3 separate regions of the Homo sapiens genome follow, and regions 1 and 2 are each linked to region 3. Evidence: promoter capture Hi-C in 16 types of primary human blood cells and fetal thymus (Javierre and others, 2016). All regions are on one chromosome and are shown on one strand. The core of a region is centred on a gene start or on the middle of the fragment in contact, and the rest is flanking DNA. Distances in the headings are between cores, read along the strand shown.

What was found. The method cuts DNA at HindIII sites, captures the fragments that hold promoters and counts their contacts. A CHiCAGO score of 5 or more calls a contact.
Region 1: a fragment that was not itself captured here is called in contact with the fragment with the promoter of NAA25 in region 3 in 1 of 17 cell types (activated CD4 T cells); the score reaches 6.1 in activated CD4 T cells.
Region 2: a fragment that was not itself captured here is called in contact with the fragment with the promoter of NAA25 in region 3 in 3 of 17 cell types (activated CD4 T cells, endothelial precursors and erythroblasts); the score reaches 5.4 in activated CD4 T cells.

The regions. Positions count from the first base shown.
Region 1 is chr12:111,864,928-111,868,712 of GRCh38, reverse strand. MAPKAPK5 (MAPK activated protein kinase 5) reads right to left here. Exons shown (of 14, transcript NM_003668.4): 2 at 3,390-3,463; 3 at 2,482-2,557; 4 at 1,044-1,141. Among named protein-coding and RNA genes, the nearest start is that of MAPKAPK5-AS1, 24 kb to the right of the region's middle. The HindIII fragment of the contact is 2,227 bases long and covers 398-2,624 here.
Region 2 is chr12:111,912,980-111,916,668 of GRCh38, reverse strand. No RefSeq gene overlaps it. Among named protein-coding and RNA genes, the nearest start is that of MAPKAPK5-AS1, 72 kb to the right of the region's middle. The HindIII fragment of the contact is 2,198 bases long and covers 684-2,881 here.
Region 3 is chr12:112,106,385-112,110,340 of GRCh38, reverse strand. It overlaps NAA25 (N-alpha-acetyltransferase 25, NatB auxiliary subunit), which reads left to right and starts at 1,558. Exons shown (of 24, transcript NM_024953.4): 1 at 1,558-1,625. The coding sequence starts at 1,568. RefSeq lists silencers at 1,609-1,688, 1,709-1,788 and an enhancer at 3,389-3,890. The HindIII fragment of the contact is 1,965 bases long and covers 626-2,590 here.

The DNA of each region.
Region 1 (3,785 bases), core at 262-2,761, 240 kb after region 3:
AAAAGAAAAAGAAACAAAAAACCCTGAAACATTAAGAAGCTGACCTAAAGATACTGCATCTACAAAGTGTGTAACAACTTCCTAAGTCCAGGGTAACACAGTTACTAAGAGCAAAAATTCTCATGTTCTGAAAAAAAAAATTTTAATGTGATTTTTGGCTACCATTCTTTCATATATGCTTCCAGCTTCCATCCAAATGCTTTCACCAACAGAGCACAGTTGTGAAAAATAAGCGTTTTTTTCCCATTTGTTTGATTTCCCATTTGTTTTTAAAATTCTATCTTCTTTTTCCATCTGGAAAATTCCTACCCTTCCTTCAAGTCCTAGCTTCCACACAGCCTTTGTGAGACACCTCTCCTCCCAGACTATAGTTAGCAGCTCCTCTCCTTTGTAAGCTTAGAATATTTTAGGGATGCCTGTCCTTAGTGCCTATTGCACTGCTATGATGATGGGTTTACATCTCAGTCTTCCCCAAAAAAACCATACCTTATTTAATTTTGAATTTTAACAAAGAGACTTAGAATGCCACCCAATATGCTTGCCAAACATTTGGTAACTAAAAGAATAATGTTGATTTCTTTCTTTAAAAGGAAAGTTAGACTAAGCAATAATAAAGGCTTTTTGTTTTATCAGCCTCTAAGACTCTGCCTAGAATAATATTTGGGCCCCTTTCACTGATTTGAAATAGAATCTGTTTAAATTCTACATTAAATGCTTTCTTGAAATGAGAAAGTAATCAGAATCATCAGGGGATGTGAAGAGTGGTAGGGGCATAGATGAAATTAGACTGGCCACAAGAGGATTACTGTTGAGGATGGATCATGAGAACTTGAGGATTCATTACATAATTCTGTCTGCTTTTACAAATGCTTGACATTTTCCAAATTACAAAAAGGGAGATGGAGGGGGAGAAGGAAGGGCAGAGGAAGCGAGGGTAGGAGGAAGAAGGAGAGGGAAGGGGAGGGAGCACATAAAAGAGAGGACAGCTCCACTACACATTGGCCTACATGTGGGCATTTGATGATGACACTGTGTAGTCTTACCTAGGGCTGGACTCATGGGGAAACTGGACACTGTTAGCAAACACTTCAATAATCTGAACTATGTTTGGGTGTGTGGCACACATCATGTGCAGACGTACCTTAAAGAGAACAGAGGAAATGTATCAATAGGTAGGGGATACCAACATTTTCTCTCCAAAAACTGACCATACTAGGTACAAGCTAATTACAATAAAAACTTTATCACTTAGAATGATGTAAAAACCCAGTGTTTTCAAAGATTATCTCCTTAATGCTTTTTCCATGAATAAAAACTCACCAACAGATTTACTTCCTACTGTTCCATTTATTTGCAAATGAAAATCTGGCAAACAATTCATTTCATTTTAGAAATTATTTGCATTTCTTTATGCAAAAGAAGTCCTTCATTGCACATGTTATTAGAATGTCATTACCATATCCAGATAGTTTAAAACCAATGTATAACCAGGGGCAGTGGCTCACACCTGTAATCCCAACACTTTGGGAGGCCAAAGTGGATCACTTGAGCCCAGGAGTTTGAGACCAGCCTGGGCAACATGCAAAACCCCATGTCTACAAAAAATACAAACAAAATTAGCCAGGCATGGTGGCAAATGCCTGTGGTCCCAGCTACTCAGGAGGCTGAGGTAGAAGGATCACTTGAGCTTAAGGAGGTCAAGGCTGCAGTGAGCCATGATCGTGCCACTGCATTCCAGCCTGGGTGACAGAGCAAGACTCGGTTTCAAACAGAAACAAAAACAAACCCAATGTATATTTTTAAAAACTAAAGGCCGGGCACAGTGGCTCACGCCTGTAATCCCAGCACTTTGAGAGGCCGAGGCGGATGGATCACCTGAGGTCAGGAGTTCAAGGCCAACCTGATCAACATGGAGAAACCCTGTCTCTACTAAAAATACAAGATGCGTGGTGGCGCATGCCTGTAATCCCAGCTATTCGGGAGGCTGAGGCAGGAGAATCACTTGAACCCGGGAGGCGGAGGTTGCCGTAAGCCGAGATTGCGCCATCGCACTCCAGCCTGGGCAACAAGAGTGAAACTCTGTCTCAAAAAGAAGAAACAAACTAGAAACATCCTCAGAGTCCTCCTGTAGCATCACTTTTATACACCATTCACCTGACTCTTCCTTGTGCTATTTTATCTCCACCTTTAAGTACCTTCTTCAATAAGCAAAACTGAGGTAAATCTGAATACATGAGGGTACAAGAATCACATTAATTTTAAAAGAACAAGAGGTGGCTGAAAGGAAATGACTCAATGGCCTTTGATATTGACAGATCTAGGACTACTTTACTAAGATAGCATGAATGGGGAAGAGAGGTAAAGTTTGGACATAAAACTTTTTATGCATCACTGTATTCTCTCTAGGAAGCTGCCTTACTTGCAAAAGAACAATTCTTAGGCACTTCAACTATTTAATTAAGTCGAGGCAATAAAGCATACCTCATTTCTAGCTTTTGGACGATCAAGAAGAATTTTCAGCGCAAACCGTTCTTGAGTAGATTTCTTTACACAGACTCTAGATTTGGAGAAAAAAAATCAATCAGAGATCATATATGTTAGAATGAAAATTAATTTAACAAGCTTTTTCTTTGAGATTTGTACTTCTCATCAAGGATATGGCCAGGTGCATCCAGAACAAACTTGCCCCCAAGGGTAGCAGGTGGGGGAAAGAAGCATCTCACCCCTCTGCCCAGCAGCCAATGCTCAGGCCTCAGCTTCTAAGCCATGCTTTTGGGGCTGTGGGTCAATGAAAAAATAATGGCCTCAGCTGGCTATAGGTGACTCTCACAGTGGCCCCACAGTCTCGACACCCTTTTTTTTTTTTTTTTTTTTTTTTGAGACAGAATCTCGCTCTGTGGCCAGGCTGGAGTGCAGTGGCATGATCTCAGCTCACTGCAATCTCTGCCTCCCTGGTTCAAGTGATTCTCCTGCCTCAGCCTCCCGAGTAGCTGGGATTACAGGCACCCACCACCACACCTGGCTAATTTTTGTATCTTTAGGAGAGACGGGGTTTCACCATGTTGGCCAGGATGGTCTCCATCTCCTGACCTCATGATCCGCCTGCCTCAGCCTCCCAAAGTTCTGGGATAACAGGCATGAGCCACCGCGCCTGGCCAGTCTCGACATCTTAAATGACTCTATAAAAAGACCATGCGACTCAGTCACTCTTAACTAATTCCTAAATACATGAGAAAAAGCCTAACATAAAAACCTGTACTTGTTAAATTCAGCCTATTCCTCAAATCTGGCACACCTGATGTGTCTAATTCAAGATGTATTTCAAATGGCCCTTCTCAGAGTTTGCACATGCCAACAATTTGCCATAGTTTCTCATATGGATCTCTTACCTAACTGGACCACTAATTCCAGCTCCCAGCTTCTGAGTCCAATTGATACTGTATTCTTCTAAAATGGAAGTTTCCTATTAATATAAAAAAAGGGAGAGGACAGAGAATGATTCCTCAGTTAACAAACTGAATAAGCAGAGATGGGACAACAGAAGACCTGTCACTCAACAGCTCATCTTCTAAGAGAATCTGATAAGCAGAACTTTGTGTTCTACAGGGCTTTATGACATTTTGTCTAAATGACAATGACTCAGACATTGTTTCCCAATTTTCCAACAAGAAAGCAAAGACTTCACGATAAAAGGAAATTATTCAGCTCATCTATAAGGTACATTTCCATAGACAATCAATGCTTTTGGGGGGTTCTGAGAGGAAGATACTCTTTCAAAATGCATC
Region 2 (3,689 bases), core at 533-3,032, 190 kb after region 3:
GGGAGTTTGAGACCAGCCTGACCAACATGGAGAAACCCTGTCTCTACTAAAAATACAAAATTAGCCAGGCATGGTGGCACGTGCCTGTAATCCCAGCTACTTGGGAGGCTGAGGCAGGAGAATCGCTTGAACCCAGGAGGTGGAGGTTGCGGTGAGCCGACATCATGCCATTGCACTCCAGCCTGGGAAAACTCCATCTCAAAAAAAAAAGAAAGAAAAAAGAAAATTGAATTTATAACTTCACATCTCCCAAGAAAAATAATCAGGCCCAGATGGTTTCACTGGAGAATTATAACAAACCTTTAAAAATAAATTAACACTAATTCTACACAATCTCTTCTAGAAAAATAAAAGAGAAGGAAAGGGAACCCTATCCGATTCATTTTATGAGGCCAGCATCACCCTGATACCAAAACCAGAGAAAGACAGTACAAAAAAAGAAAACTACAGACCAATATCCTTCATGAATATAGATGCAAAAAAAATTTAACCAAATATTAGCAAATAAAATTCAGCAATGTGAAAAAAAGAATTATACACCATGACCAAGTTTTGTTTTTTCCAGGGATGCAGGATTGGTTTATGTTTGAAAATCAAACATTGAATTCACCATGTTAGCAGGCTAAATAAGAAAAATCCCATGATCATATCAATTGGTGCAGAAAAAAGCATTTGGCTAAGCTTTACATCCATTCATGATAAAAACTCCCAGAAAACTAGGTAGAGAGTGAAAACTACCTCAATGTAATAAGAACATCTACAAAAAGCCTATAGTTAATGTTTTACTTAATGGTGAAAGACTGAATCTTCCCCCTTGCAGGATACAGTAGCAACATATAAAAATCAATTATATTTCTGTATACTAGCAATGAACAATTTAATCAAAATAAAAATACAATTTAAAATCACTCAAAAAATGAAATATTTAGATGTAAATTTAACAAAATATGTACAGGACCTATTAAATGAAAACCACAAGACACTGATGAAAGAAATCAAAGATGTAAATAAATAGAGATTTGCTATGTTTACAAATTGGAAGACACAACGTAATAAAGATACCAGTTCTCCTCAAACTGATACATAGACTTAACCCAATTCATATCACAATCCGAACAAGATTCTTTGTAGATACAGACAAGAAAATTTTAAAATTTATATTTTACAATATAAATTTTCTAAAAGACAAAGGAACAAGACTAGCTAAAACAATTTTGGAAAATAATAACTTGGAGAAATCACTCTTTTCTGTTTCAATAGTATGCGGTATTGCTGATGAGATACACACATAGATCAATGGAACACAGGAAACCCTTAAATAGAGTTTTTGCACTTTTTAAATTTAGCATAATCTTTTTTTTTTTTTTTGAGACGGAGTCTCGCTCTGTCACCCAGGCTGGAGTGCAGTGGCGCTATCTCAGCTCACTGCAAGCCCCGCCTCCCGAGTTCACACCATTCTCCTGCCTCAGCCTCAGGAGTAGCTGGGACTACAGGCGCCTGCCACCACACCCAGCTAATTTTTTGTATTTTTAGTAGAGACGGGGTTTCGTCATGTTAGCCAGGATGGTCTCGATCTCCTGACCTCATGGTCTGCCCACCTCAGCCTCCCAAAGTGCTGGGATTACAGGCATGAGCCACCGTGCCTGGCCAATTTAGCATGATATTCTTAAAGTTCATCCACATTGTAGCAGGTGTTAGTATTTCATTCCTTTTTTTTTTTTTTTTTAAGAGTTAGGGTTGGCCGGGCGTGGTGGCTCACGCCTGTAATTCTACCACTTTGGGAGGCCAAGGCAGGCAGATCACAAGGTCAGGAGATCGAGACCATCCTGGCTAACACGGTGAAACCCCATCTCTACTAAAAATACAAAAACAAAATTAGCCAGACGTGGTGGCGGGCACCTGTAGTCCCAGCTACCAGGGAGGCTGAGGCAGGAGAATGTTGTGAACCCGGGAGGCGGAGCTTGCAGTGAGCTGAGATCATACCACTGCACTCCAGCCTGGGTGACAGAGCAAGACTGTCTCAAAAAAAAAAAAAAAAATTGTTGGGGTTTCACTCTGTCGCCCAGGCTGGAGTGCAGTGGTGCAGTCATGGCTCACTGCAGCCTCAAACTCCTGGGCTCAAGAGATTCTCCTGGTCGGGCACAGTGGCTCATGCCTGTAATCCCAGCACTTTGGGAGGCCAAGGCAGGTGGATCACTTGACCTCAGGAGTTCCAGACCAGCCTGGCCAACATGGTGAAACCCCGTCTCTACTAAAAATACAAAAATTAGCTGGGCGTGGTGGTGCACATCTGTAATCCCAGCTATTTGGGAGGCTGAGGCAGGAGAATCCCTTGAACCTGGGAGGCAGAGGTTGCAATGAGCTGAGATCTTGTCATTGCACTCCATCCAGCCTAGGCGACAGAGCAAGACTCCATCTCAAAAAAAAAAAAAAAAAATGGAGATTCTCCTGCCTCAGCCTCCTGAGTAGCTGGGACCACAGGTGCATGCCACCACAAACTGTTAAGTTTAAATTTTTTTTTAGAGACAGAGTATCACTATGTTGCCCAGGCTGGTCTGGAACTCCTGGCTTCAAGCAGTTCTCCCACCTTGACCTATCAAAATGCTGGGATTACAGGCGTGAGCGATTGTGCCCAGCTCAGCTCATTCCTTTTTTATTGCTGAATAGTGGTCCATTATATGGATATACTACATTTTAGTTAATGATAGACATTTGGATTGTTTTCATTTAATGTATAAGTAACATGCTATAAATACTCATGTACAAGTTTTTGTATGGATATGTTTTTGTATTTCTTGGGTATATTATGCATATATGAGTGGAAGTGCTAGGTCATAGGATAACTCTGCATTTATTTAGCATTTTAAGAAACTACCAAGCTTTGATTCAAAGTGGCTGCACCATTTTACATTCACACCAGCAGTGCATGTGGGTTCTAATTTCTCTACATCCAGAATCTGTGTTTTTTATCTTTAACCATTTAGTTCCTAGCATATAAATATTTCTTAAAAGTAAATGTTTAAATTTAAAGAATGAAGTCAATAGGAAAATAAACAAATGAACTGAGGTCAGATTAGTTTGTTGGGTCTTTTTTTTTTTTTTTTTTTTTTTTTGAGACAGGGTCACACTCTGTAACCCAGGCTGGAGTGCAGTGGCACCATCACAGCTCACTATAGCCTTGACTTGGCCTGGGCTCACTGATTCTCCCACCTCAGCTTCCCGAGTAGCTGAGACTACAGGCGCAAGCCACCATGCCTGGGTAATTTTTATATTTTTATATTTTTATATTATATTTTACCATGTTATCGAAGCTGAGCTTGAACTCCTGGATTCAAGCGATCTGCCCCTCAGCCTCCCAAAATACTGGGATTACAGGGGTGTGCCACCACGCCTAGCCTGAAGCCCAGATTTGTATCATTTGCCTGTTTCTGTGGTATAAATACTCCCACCACCATGACATAACAAGATAAGGTGGTGGAGTATACATATATATAGGGGAGAGTTATGGAAGATTTTCTCCCCGTGGCAGAGTAATTATCTGGAGCCATATTACATATACAATGGGGAAGTGATAAAAGACCTCACAGTTTTTTAAAGCTTTATGTCTAAAAGCAGGGTGAAAACATTTTACAGTTGTTCAACATTTTGCATTCTCATTAGTAGAGGAAGACTGCCTTTTTTCTTTTTTG
Region 3 (3,956 bases), core at 309-2,808:
TGCCTAGGCCTTTCCTTGGCCTTAAAGCATGACAAAATAACGAAAGAATTCCTAACAGGACCCATTTAGGATTAAACAAATTTTATTGGGGGTCTGAAGTAACTCCCCAAACCTCCGTGATTTAGTAGGAGGCAAGATAAGGATAATCACCCCAGCACCTATTGCCATTTAGATTAAGTAAATTTACTGAGGCTTCAAAGGAAAGTCTTCAGGACTCAAACCTTAGTTATAGACTAAAGTGAGTTAATCAATTATTATTATTATTATTTTTTTTTTTTTGAGACGGAGCCTCCCTCGCCCAGGCTGGAGTGCAGTGCCGGGATCTCGGCTCACTGCAAGCTCCGCCTTCCGGGTTCACGCCATTCTCCTGCCTCAGCCTCCCTAGTAGCTGGGACTACAGGCGCCTGTCACTGCGCCCAGCTAATTTTTTGTATTTTTAGTAGAGATGGGGTTTCACCGTGGTCTCGATCTCCTGACCTCGTGATCCGCCCGCCTTGGCCTCCCAAAGTGCTGGGATTACAGGCATGAGCCACCGCGCCCGGCGAGTTAATCACTTATGTCTTTAGATGAATGCACATTTACACGTAGACATATAGCTTAGAAGGTATATAAGCTCTGGAAAGCTTTGTAATTTTAAGTTGGTCTGGTGATAATTTCCAGGCCTTCTCCCTGTAACTGGTTGCAGAAATAAAAACTCGCTTCCTCTCCAGTTCATCTGCATCTCCTTACTGAACCAGGAGAAACAGCAGCCTGACGCTCAGTTTGGTCCAGGAACAGGTGGTGGAGGGCTCTCGAACTTTTTTCTTTTTTTTTTTTTTTTTTTGAGATGGAGTCTCGCTCTGTCGCCCAGGCTGGGGTGCAGTGGCGCGATCTCGGCTTACTGCAAGCTCCGCCTCCTGGGTTCACGCCATTCTCCTGCCTCAGCCTCATGAGTAGCTGGGACTACAGGCGCCCGCCACTACGCCCCGCTAACTTTTTTTGTATTTTTAGTAGAGATGGGGTTTCACCGTGTTAGCCAGGATGGTCTCGATCTCCTGACCTTGTGATCCGCCCGCCTCGGCCTCCCAAAGTGCTGGGATTACAGGCTGAGCCACAGCGCCCGGCTCTCTCGAACTTTTTTGGCAGATTTTTGCTGTTGATCAGCCCCGCTTCCCCAACTTTCCCCTGGGTCTCTCTCCCCCGGGAGTTTCTGGTTCCTCTGCGATTAATCACAGCCAAGTCTAGCTGGTTCTTCAGGACGGAGAATAAATAGGATAAACAGGAGCAGCCGAACCCTAACTTTGAGAGCTTTCTCCCCTCCTCTCCTAACTTCCCAGTCAGTGACTCGGAAGACTTTAACAGCAACAGCTGCCTCCTCTTGCCAGCTTGATCCCACCTGCTAAGTGAAGGAACAGCGTTTAAAGAGGTGGCAATCGGCAAGGGTGGATGCTTCCCTTTCCGCGCAGGCGCGTTCAGTCGCAGCACCGCGACTATCGTGATAGACAAGCGAGATCGACGCTGGCCCTTTAATAGCCCTTTCCCGGGGTCCTGCCCCGCGCGTGCGCACTGTGGTTCTGCGCTTGTCATCATGGCGACGCGGGGCCATGTGCAGGACCCTAACGACAGGCGCCTCCGGCCCATTTACGGTGAGTGTCTTGGACCAGCCCGCTCGCCAGCCCGACGCGCCGAGGGCTGCCGAGGCTGGGGCGAAAGCCCAGGAGGGGTGCTGAGGGCCGGCGCGCGGGCCGGGCAGGCGCAGGGGGGCGGGCCGCGCGGGCCACTAGGCCGCAGCCGCGGGCCTCGCGTAGGCGCCGGCCCAACCTTCCTCAGCCTTGGGGTGGTAGTGGCGCGGTCTGGGCAGCAGCTGGTCGGCAGAGCTGGCCTGCTTGGCAGGCCCCGTGGGACGCGTGGTTCTGCAGACACCTGCGCTACCCGCAGGCTGCATCGTTACCGCCGCTCCTAGGGAGACCGGAGATCTCCCCGAAGGTGGAAGCCGGCTCCGGCACGAGGGTGGGACGCCCTGCCTGAGGGAAGATTCCCTACCAGAGATTTTTTTTTATTTACGGGAATTGGGCCTAGAGGGTTGTCTGACTAGGTGGGCTTCGGTGCATAGGAGAAACTGAGGTCCGGAGTGGGGAAGGGGCTGACGCAAGGTCACCCAGATCGAGTCAGGAGCAGGCCCGAGATTCCAGGCTCCCAATCCAGAGCTGTTGGGTGGAGAAGCAGCTACTCTGGTCACACGTGGGAGGCGGGGGGAGGGGGTCTTGGGCCTAAAATAGCGGTGAAGAGATTGTGATAGCTCGTGTCAGAGGGGCATGCAGAGCTACTGGAGGGCTTCTCCTTTCTGCAGCTTCTCTGTGGTTTTCTCTGCAGCTTTCCTTCCCTGTGCTAAGCAGATCCCTCTCCACAACTCTTACCTCAACCCGCAGACTTGAAGACCTTGATGTCATCTCATCCATTTACCCTGGTAGTGAAAAATCACAGATTTTGAGTTTGGGAGAAACCCTTTTCCAATAACCGAAATGTGTAATTGGATTGGTCCTTTTTGCATTTCCTTTCCTCTTAGATGGTTTTATGGTCTTGGTCTATCTCACTTAATGGTGAGGAAGCTTCAAGGTCAGTGGTTTTTACAAAAGTAGACATCGTATTTATAGACCTCATGTGGATGTTACTAAATTGGAGGCTTCTCTCCAAGGTGGGAATCGTTTTGGGAGCGGGGGGCGGTGGTTAACTTTGTTTCTGGCCACAGTTAGTCCGGCTTTTATTTCATAATTTGTGTGATTTTTTTTTTTACTCTCACATCTCATTTGATTTTAGCAACAATCCTATAGCTAAGGTTTATAGATGACTCATTATGACAGTCACTGGCCTTGGCCTTTTATATGGGTTATCTAATATAATCTTCACCCATTCTCAAGAGGTGGCTACTGTTTTTTCCTGCCCCTGAACCCTTTAACAACAACAACAACAAAAAAAAAAACAGATGAGGAAACTGAGGCTTTATTGTTGTTGTGTAATTTGTCTAAGGCCACTCAGTTAGTATTTCTTGGAGCTAGAATTTGAACCCCTGTGGACTGTTTCAGGCTCACCTTTTTTTTCTTTTGAGATGAGTCTCACTCTGTCGTCCAGGTTGGAGTACAGTGGCACAATCTCAGTTCACTGCACCCTCTGCCTCCCAGGTTCAAGCGATTCTCCTGCCTCAGCCTCCTGAGTAGCTGAGATTACAGTTGCACGCCACCAGGCCCAGCGAACTTCCATGTTTTTAGTAGAGACAGGAGTTTACCATGTTAGCCAGGCTGGACTTGAACTCTTGACCTACTCAGCCTCCCAAAGTGCTGGGATTATAGGTGTGAGCCACCATGCCTGGCTCCAGGCTCACCTTTTTTTTTTTTTTTTTTTTTTTTTTGGAGACAGTCTCATTCTGTCATCCAGGCTAGAGTGCAGTTGCACAATCACAGTGCACTGCAACCAGCCTCCGCCTCCTGGGTTCAAGTGATTCTCCTGCCTCAGTCTCCTGAGTAGCTGGGATTACAGGTGCCCGCCACCATGCCGGCTAATTTTTGTATATATTGTAGAGAATGGGTTTCGTCATGTTGCCCAGTCTAGTCTAAAACTCCTGAGCTCAAGCAGTCCTGCCTCAGCCTCCCAGAGTGCTGGGATTACAGGTGTGAGCCACTGTGCCTGGCCCAGGCTCACCTTCTTAACCACTGTGCTAGAAACTACCTCACTTTGAGCTGAAGACACTGATTTGCCTGAGGTCACACAGATGGTAAGTGGCAGAGAAAGGACTCTGATTTCCTATTTCCCCGGGGCTGCATATTCTCATGCCCTTGCCCTCCAGTGTATATTTTCAGAGGGCAGAGATATATATACAAGGTGGGTGATGGAAGGTGAGAACTGAATCCAGGGTTCATAGTTTGTGACTCATTACAGCTTTGTGCAGCAGCTGCCTGCAGACTTTTTTTTTTTTAAACTAA